Regions from separate parts of the Homo sapiens genome. Here region 2 is linked to region 1. Evidence: promoter capture Hi-C in 16 types of primary human blood cells and fetal thymus (Javierre and others, 2016). All regions are on one chromosome and are shown on one strand. Each heading gives the region's core, a stretch centred on a gene start or on the middle of the fragment in contact. The rest is flanking DNA. Distances are from core to core; before and after follow the strand shown. Region 1 has its middle 47 kb from the start of AOC1. Region 2 holds the start of ATG9B (autophagy related 9B).

Evidence for each region. The method cuts DNA at HindIII sites, captures the fragments that hold promoters and counts their contacts. A CHiCAGO score of 5 or more calls a contact.
Region 2: a contact is called between the fragment with the promoter of ATG9B here and a fragment that was not itself captured in region 1, in 1 of 17 cell types (non-activated CD4 T cells). The highest score is 6.1, in non-activated CD4 T cells.

What each region holds. Positions count from the first base shown.
Region 1 is chr7:150,898,129-150,901,390 of GRCh38, reverse strand. No RefSeq gene overlaps it. Among named protein-coding and RNA genes, the nearest start is that of AOC1, 47 kb to the right of the region's middle. RefSeq lists silencers at 2,633-2,692, 2,710-2,870 and an enhancer at 2,576-2,870. The HindIII fragment of the contact is 3,989 bases long and covers 1-3,244 here.
Region 2 is chr7:151,023,210-151,026,290 of GRCh38, reverse strand. It overlaps ATG9B (autophagy related 9B), which reads left to right and starts at 1,797. Exons shown (of 14, transcript NM_001317056.2): 1 at 1,797-2,417; 2 at 2,561-2,604; 3 at 2,782-2,846. The coding sequence starts at 1,868. LOC124901777 (a long non-coding RNA gene) reads left to right here. Exons shown (of 3, transcript XR_007060593.1): 3 at 1,258-1,296. RefSeq lists an enhancer at 282-886. The HindIII fragment of the contact is 8,592 bases long and covers 1-3,081 here.

The DNA of each region.
Region 1 (3,262 bases), core at 1-2,500:
GTGCAGTGCATGTGCAGTGTGGCTGGGGAGGGAGCTCAAGTTCGCTCTGCAGAGGCTTGGCTGCAGCAGCAGCCCTTTGATCCCCGAGTTACAGACCTTGCCCTGGGCCGGTTCTTCCTGCTCTGGAGCTGGGGGCAGGGACAATATCACAGAGTAAGGCCAGTCTGGACTCTAGAAAAGTGTCTCTAAACTGGGAGACTCCTCCATCCCACCCAGAGTCCAGAAGCAGGCTAGGGTCCCCTCCATCCAGAAAGAAGGTGCCCTCCCCGCAGCAAGCTGGAAACACCAGAGTCGACTGGAATTCCAGGTTTACTGAGGGCCTGCTGTGTTCCAGGTCCCAGAGGTGTAGGTCCTGGAGGTGTAAAAATGAGCCAGGGGCTTTCAACCCAGCGAGGCAGAGAGGCAAGTGAGGCCAGGGGTGAGAGCAGCTGGGTAAGCACAGGGAAGAGGCCCCGGTACCCGCGAGTGCTCCATGGTACAGAGCCTGGGTTCTCACTGGAGAGAGAGACAGAGTAAGTGCAAGTGCATAAGGCAATTCCCTACAGCAACAGTGAGGGCAGAAGACAGGGCTGTGGGGGCTGGGTCGCCGTGGAGAAAGTCTCTTTGGGAAGTGACATTTGAACTGGATGCGCTGGGTTTACCTTTTAAGGTCAGGAGAGGCAGACGCAGAGGAATCAGAAGATGCAAGGCCCTGAGGTGGAAACAAGTTTTGGTGTGGCTGGAAATGAGGATGTCATAATTTTGTCAAAGTAATGCTGCCCAGGCCAGGTGCCGTGGTTCACACCTGTCACCCCAACGCCTTGGGAGGCCGAGGCAGGAGGATCACTGAGCCCAGGAGTTTGAGACCAGCCTGGGCAACATAGTGAGACCCCTACTCTAAAAAAAAAATTAGCCAGGCATGGTGCACACCTGTAGTCCCAGATATTTAGGAGGCTGAGGTGGGAGAACTGCTTGAGCCCAGGAGTTCAAGGCTGCAGGAGTGACCTGTGATTGCACCACTGCACTCCATCCTGGAAGACAGAGAGAGACTCTGTCTCTAAAATAATAATCATAATAACAAACAGCTCTCAAACTCAGTGCATTATGACAACCAGTGTTAATTACTCTCATACTCACAGGTCTCAGATGGCTATAATTTGGCTGATCCAGGATAGGTGTGGCTGGACGGCCCTGCCTTAGGCTGTAGGTAGCCTGGGTTTGACGCAAGTTCAGGTGGTTGCACCAAGTTTGTCCTGGGGCACAGCAGAGGCTCTCTGGAGGAAGCTCTTCTTACCCTGGACTTCTGGAGTGGAAAGAAGGAGCCAGGCCATGTGGGCGCATGGAGTGCTTCTGCTAGTTCCATCCTCCAACAGCCCCAGGGCCAAAACACGTCAGGTGGTCAAGTCCAACATCAATGAGCAGGGGAGTCTATACGGGAGGAGTGTGAGTATTTGCTGAATAATAATAACCCAGACTGTCACCCGCCACCTCAGAGAGGAGCTGTGAGGACGGAGGGAGTCACTGCCTGGTTTGTGCACATGTTAAATGCTTACCCCATGCTAACTGATACGTGGAGGATGTAGGGATGGGTCAGATTCTCAAGGTCTTGATAAATCACGTTGAAAATTTTGGGAGCCATGGAGGCTTCAATCAGAAGGGTGACAGGGTTTGATCTGGATTTCAGAGCAACCCCTCTGGAAGCCGCGTTGAGGTTGGTCTGATGGAGGCGAGACTGGGGTCTCAGGGTGATGAGCAGTAAGTCATCATGGGGAAAGGAAAGATGGAACGAATTCAGGAAATGCTGGGAAGGTGGGACTCACGGGTAGATGGCAGAGGGGCTGTGTGGAGGGAAGCAGGTGCCTAGGCTCTCGGTTCTTGGCTTGGGTCAAGGGACATGATGATAGACCCTGGGCTGGGGAGCACAGGAGGAAGGGCTGGCCTGTGCAGGGGATAGAGGAGGTGATAAACCGGCTTAGACATGTGGAGTGTGAGGTTCTCACAGGACGTTTAGGTAGAGGTACAGGTCTTGGCGTGTAAGAGAAGAATATGGACATGGGACATATATTTGGGAGTCAAATCGGTTAAGGGGCAGGCAGGAAGTGAGCCCCAGTTATTGAGGTTTCCAGGGAATGGGAAATATGCTGGGTTGGCGCAGGGGAACTCCAGTGGCGCATATTCACATGTGGCTGACGTCGCCGTGAGATAGCCATCCTCATATTCTTCTTCTAAACTAAAGCCTGAAATTACTTGGGGGTGGCAAAGCCCAGCAAAAGAGCCCACCCCCAGCCTCCATGGCTAAGGCTTGGCCAATGAGTTGTAAGACAAGTGATGTCTGTGAATTCCGGCAAAGCACAGTGAAGGTAGCCATACCCTTCTCTGTCCCCTCCTCCATCCTACTGCCTGACTTGTATGAGATGGCTGGAGCTCTGGCAGTCACCGTGGACTAGGAGGCTGGGGGCTACATCCCAGGTGGAGGCCGTGAGGAGGAAGGAGGCTGCGTGCCCTAGGCCTTCATGGGGCCCCTAAGCCACTCAGGACTGTGTTTACAGAGAAACACGACTGTCTCTTGTTGAAGCCGCTGTGAACACATTTTTCTGTTCCATTCAGCTGAACTTGGTCCACAGGGAGCCATTTTGAGTCTGCCGTTCTTGGTCAAGCCTCACCCCGGGGGCATTTCCAGCCTCTGTTTTCTCCGCGGGATTAATAAGAGGCAGCCGTGCCCGGTCCAGTCGCCGCGAGGTGTTGTGCGCCACCTGGTGGTCGCGTGGCAGACAGCATTCCTCCAAGCGAGACAGCACCAGCGGCTAAAATGCAGCTATCTGCACCTCGAACCCAGCCCATCTTTTAGCCAATGACAAGCCAAGTGCCCCAGAGTCCTGCATGGCAGTGGACGCTGACAAGAACTCCAGGAATTCCAGATTGCATGGAGCTTCTCGGCTCAGGTGTGTTTTCGGAATCAACTGCGGGCAGTTTCCAAGGAGCCAGTTGGCGGTCCCTGCGTCTCCTCGTCCAGGTCGTGAACTTCTGTACTAAAGGATTCCATGTGACCCCTCTGCTGCAGACTCTGGTCTCAGAGCAATAGTGAGAGCTGGAGAGAAGGGAGGGAGATGACTCACTGCTTTACTGAGCAGGAAATTAACACCAAGGGAGCCTAACCTGGCAGCAGCCTGGAAAAATTGGTTTGCGGTGGTTTGAGCAGTGGGCAAAGTGGGTTTATGTGGGCGAGCTTATTAACACTTCCTTTTGCTGACTGCGGGTACAAGCTTGAAATGGCCAACAGTGC
Region 2 (3,081 bases), core at 548-3,047, 120 kb before region 1:
AAAATCAGGCACATCTGGATTCAAGTTTTGTGGGTGATTCCATGATTGCCTCCAGTGAACAATCTGGGAAGCACAGTGTCCATATCGCCATTTCAGGGGTACTGGCCCCAACATCAGCCCTTAGGCCTAAGCCCTAGAGACCTTGACACCTGGTGGCTGAGTCAGTATCTCAGTAATGGGCTTTAGAAGGAAACCTGGTGATTCAGGGCCTCAAGAATGGCGTTGGGCAAGCCACCAGACCAGCTGCCTGGGTCTCCTCCTCCTTGTTGAGGTGACAACAAGGAACTCAGTTCAGCTCCTCCCTGGGTATCCAAATTATCCTTCCAAGTCCCAGACTCACAGCTGTCCTCCCTTCTGATTCAGCCCTGATGCTTTTCAGGGGGTCCCAGAAGTGGGATCCGGACTTGAGAGAATGTCACAGTTGAAAATGATAAGGATGCAAACGGAATGGAACTTTCAGAGAACCCCAATTTTCTACTCTAAGTTCTCCAAACCAACTCTCAAATCCAAGATAGCTGCCTTTCCTTTCTTCACCTCCTCTTCTTAGTTTTCCCCAACTTGGCTGCAAAGTCAGCCTCCCCTCTTCTCTTCCTTAGCACCTCAGACCAATAAAACATGCAACCTTTTCTTATTCTTTTTAAAAAATTTATTTTTGACCAGGCGCAGTGGCTCACGCCTGTAATGCCAGCACTTTGGGAGGCCAAGGCGGGTGGATCACGAGGTCAGGAGTTCAAGACCAGCCTGGCCAACATGGTGAAACCCCATCTCTACTAAAAATACAAAAAATTAGCTGGGTGTGGTGGCACACACCTGTAGTCTCAGCTACTCAGGAGGCTGAAGCAGAAGAATCACTTGAACTTGGGAGGCGGAGGTTGCAGTGAGCCGAGATTGTGCCACTATACTCCAGTCTGGGTGACAGAGTGAGACTGCCTCAAAAAGAAAAAAAATTATTTTGTTTGTTTTTTAGATTTTGTAGAGATGGTGTTTCCCTAAGTTGCTCAGGCTGGTCTCGAACTCCTGGCCTCAAGTGATCCTCTCGCCCGGGCCTCCCAAAGTCCTGGGATTACGGGTGTAAGCCAACATGCCTGGCCCCTTTACTTCTTCTTTTCTGTTTTGGTCACAAAACATTTCTCTGTTGATCACTGTAGTGTGTGTGTGGAGGGAAGTGGGGGAGGTACACTCTTAAGAAATGAAATAGTTAACATCTTGGTCCTAAGATTTGTTGTAGAGATGGAGTCTTCTCATTCTGTTCCCCAGGCTGGTCTTGAACTCCTGGCCTCAAGCAATCCTCTTTCCTCGGCTTCCCAAAGTGCTGAGATTGATTACAAGTGTGAGGTACTGCGCCCTGCTACAATCCTTTAATAGGATGTTTTTGGGGGGGGTGGCAGGGGGCAGGATCTAGCTCACTGTAACCTATACTGTTCCAGTGTAACCTGCACCAAGCCATCCTCCCACCTCAGTCTCTTGAGTAGCTAGGAACACAAGCACACATCACCACACCTGGCTCTAACACGATTTTGCTTTTTGCTTTTGTCATTTTGGCTGCTGTTCTTTTTATCTTTCATTCATTCAAGGTCTGAAGATGGAGATAATAGGAATCTTCTCATCTCAATGTGCTCTTTGGCCCCTCCTCTTAAACTGATGCCCCTCTCAGGCCCTGAGGGATTTGGCCTCAGGTTGCCCTGGAAGGGGTGTGAGTGATCAGACAGGTGACTGAGAGCTGGGACGCCTGAGGCCTGCCTAGGCTGAGTCACCTAGTAATGTTGTTGTCATTGTTCCTGTTGAAGTCCCAGCTCAGTGTCACAGACCTTTGTGGAAGCAACAACAGCTCCCATCCTTCCAACCTTTCTGGAGAAGCCGTGGCCTGATGGTGAGCCGAATGGGCTGGGGGGGGAGAAGAAGGCGGCTGGGGCGGTGGGGAGATCTGGGGCCCGGATCGGTGCCCCTCCTCCCCATGCCACTGCCACCTCCTCCTCCTCCTTCATGCCGGGGACCTGGGGGAGGGAGGATCTCCATCTTCTCTCTGTCCCCTGCCCCTCATACAAGAAGCTCCCCCTCCTCATTTTCCCCTCCCACCGCAGGGCCCCCTTGCTCAGTGCTACAGGGGACAGGGGCTTCTCAGTCTTGCCACAGTGCTCTCCCTATCCCAGCCACCCCCCCAACACAGGCTCAACCTGCAATGACACCTGCCTCTGCATCTCCCTCCTGGGGATCCCACTCCACCCCACCCCTGGCCCCGGCAACCCCCACTCCCTCACAGCAGTGCCCCCAGGACTCTCCTGGGCTGCGGGTAGGCCCTTTGATCCCTGAACAGGATTATGAGCGGCTGGAGGACTGTGACCCTGAGGGGTCCCAAGACTCACCCATCCACGGGGAGGAGCAGCAACCCCTGCTTCATGTCCCTGAAGGGCTCCGAGGTATGTGTGTGGGTGTGGGTGGGAGAGGGTTAGTGGTGCCTGGGAGCTCCAGTACTTATCCCAGGCTGGGCCTCTGGCAGCGGGTTGAGAACGTGGAGAATTGATCACATGCCAGGGGCTGACACTCTCCCCTCTGTGCCCAGGCTCCTGGCATCACATCCAGAACCTGGACAGTTTCTTCACCAAGATATCCTTTGCGCTAGGCCTGCAGAGGTGGCATGGGAAGGTCCTCTTGGAGCTGGCACTGTTCTTGGCAGGGAGACTCCGTGAGGGCGTCATGGGTGGGAGACTTGTTGGGGCTGAGGGGAGGTGTCCTCAGGAGAGGCCCCCCGTGCCTCAGGCTTGTTCCTTGACACGCAGCCACATCTACAGCTACCACCAGCGGAATGGCTTTGCCTGCATCTTGCTGGAGGATGTCTTCCAGCTGGGGTGAGACGCTTAGCCCGGGCCCGGAACTCGGTCCCCTGGGCCCATGGCTTCCTTCTGTCATTTTGCTTCCTTAATTGTGCCAGCTGCTTCCATCCCATGCTTTCCCGAGCAGCCCAAGGGCTCAGCAGGGGCAGGGTCAGGGAGGATAACCATGGGCTGCTCTGGGGGCTGGGGCAGGAGCCCACCTGGCTGTCCCTGATCACTGCAGCATCCCGGCACCCCCCCTTCCTCCCGG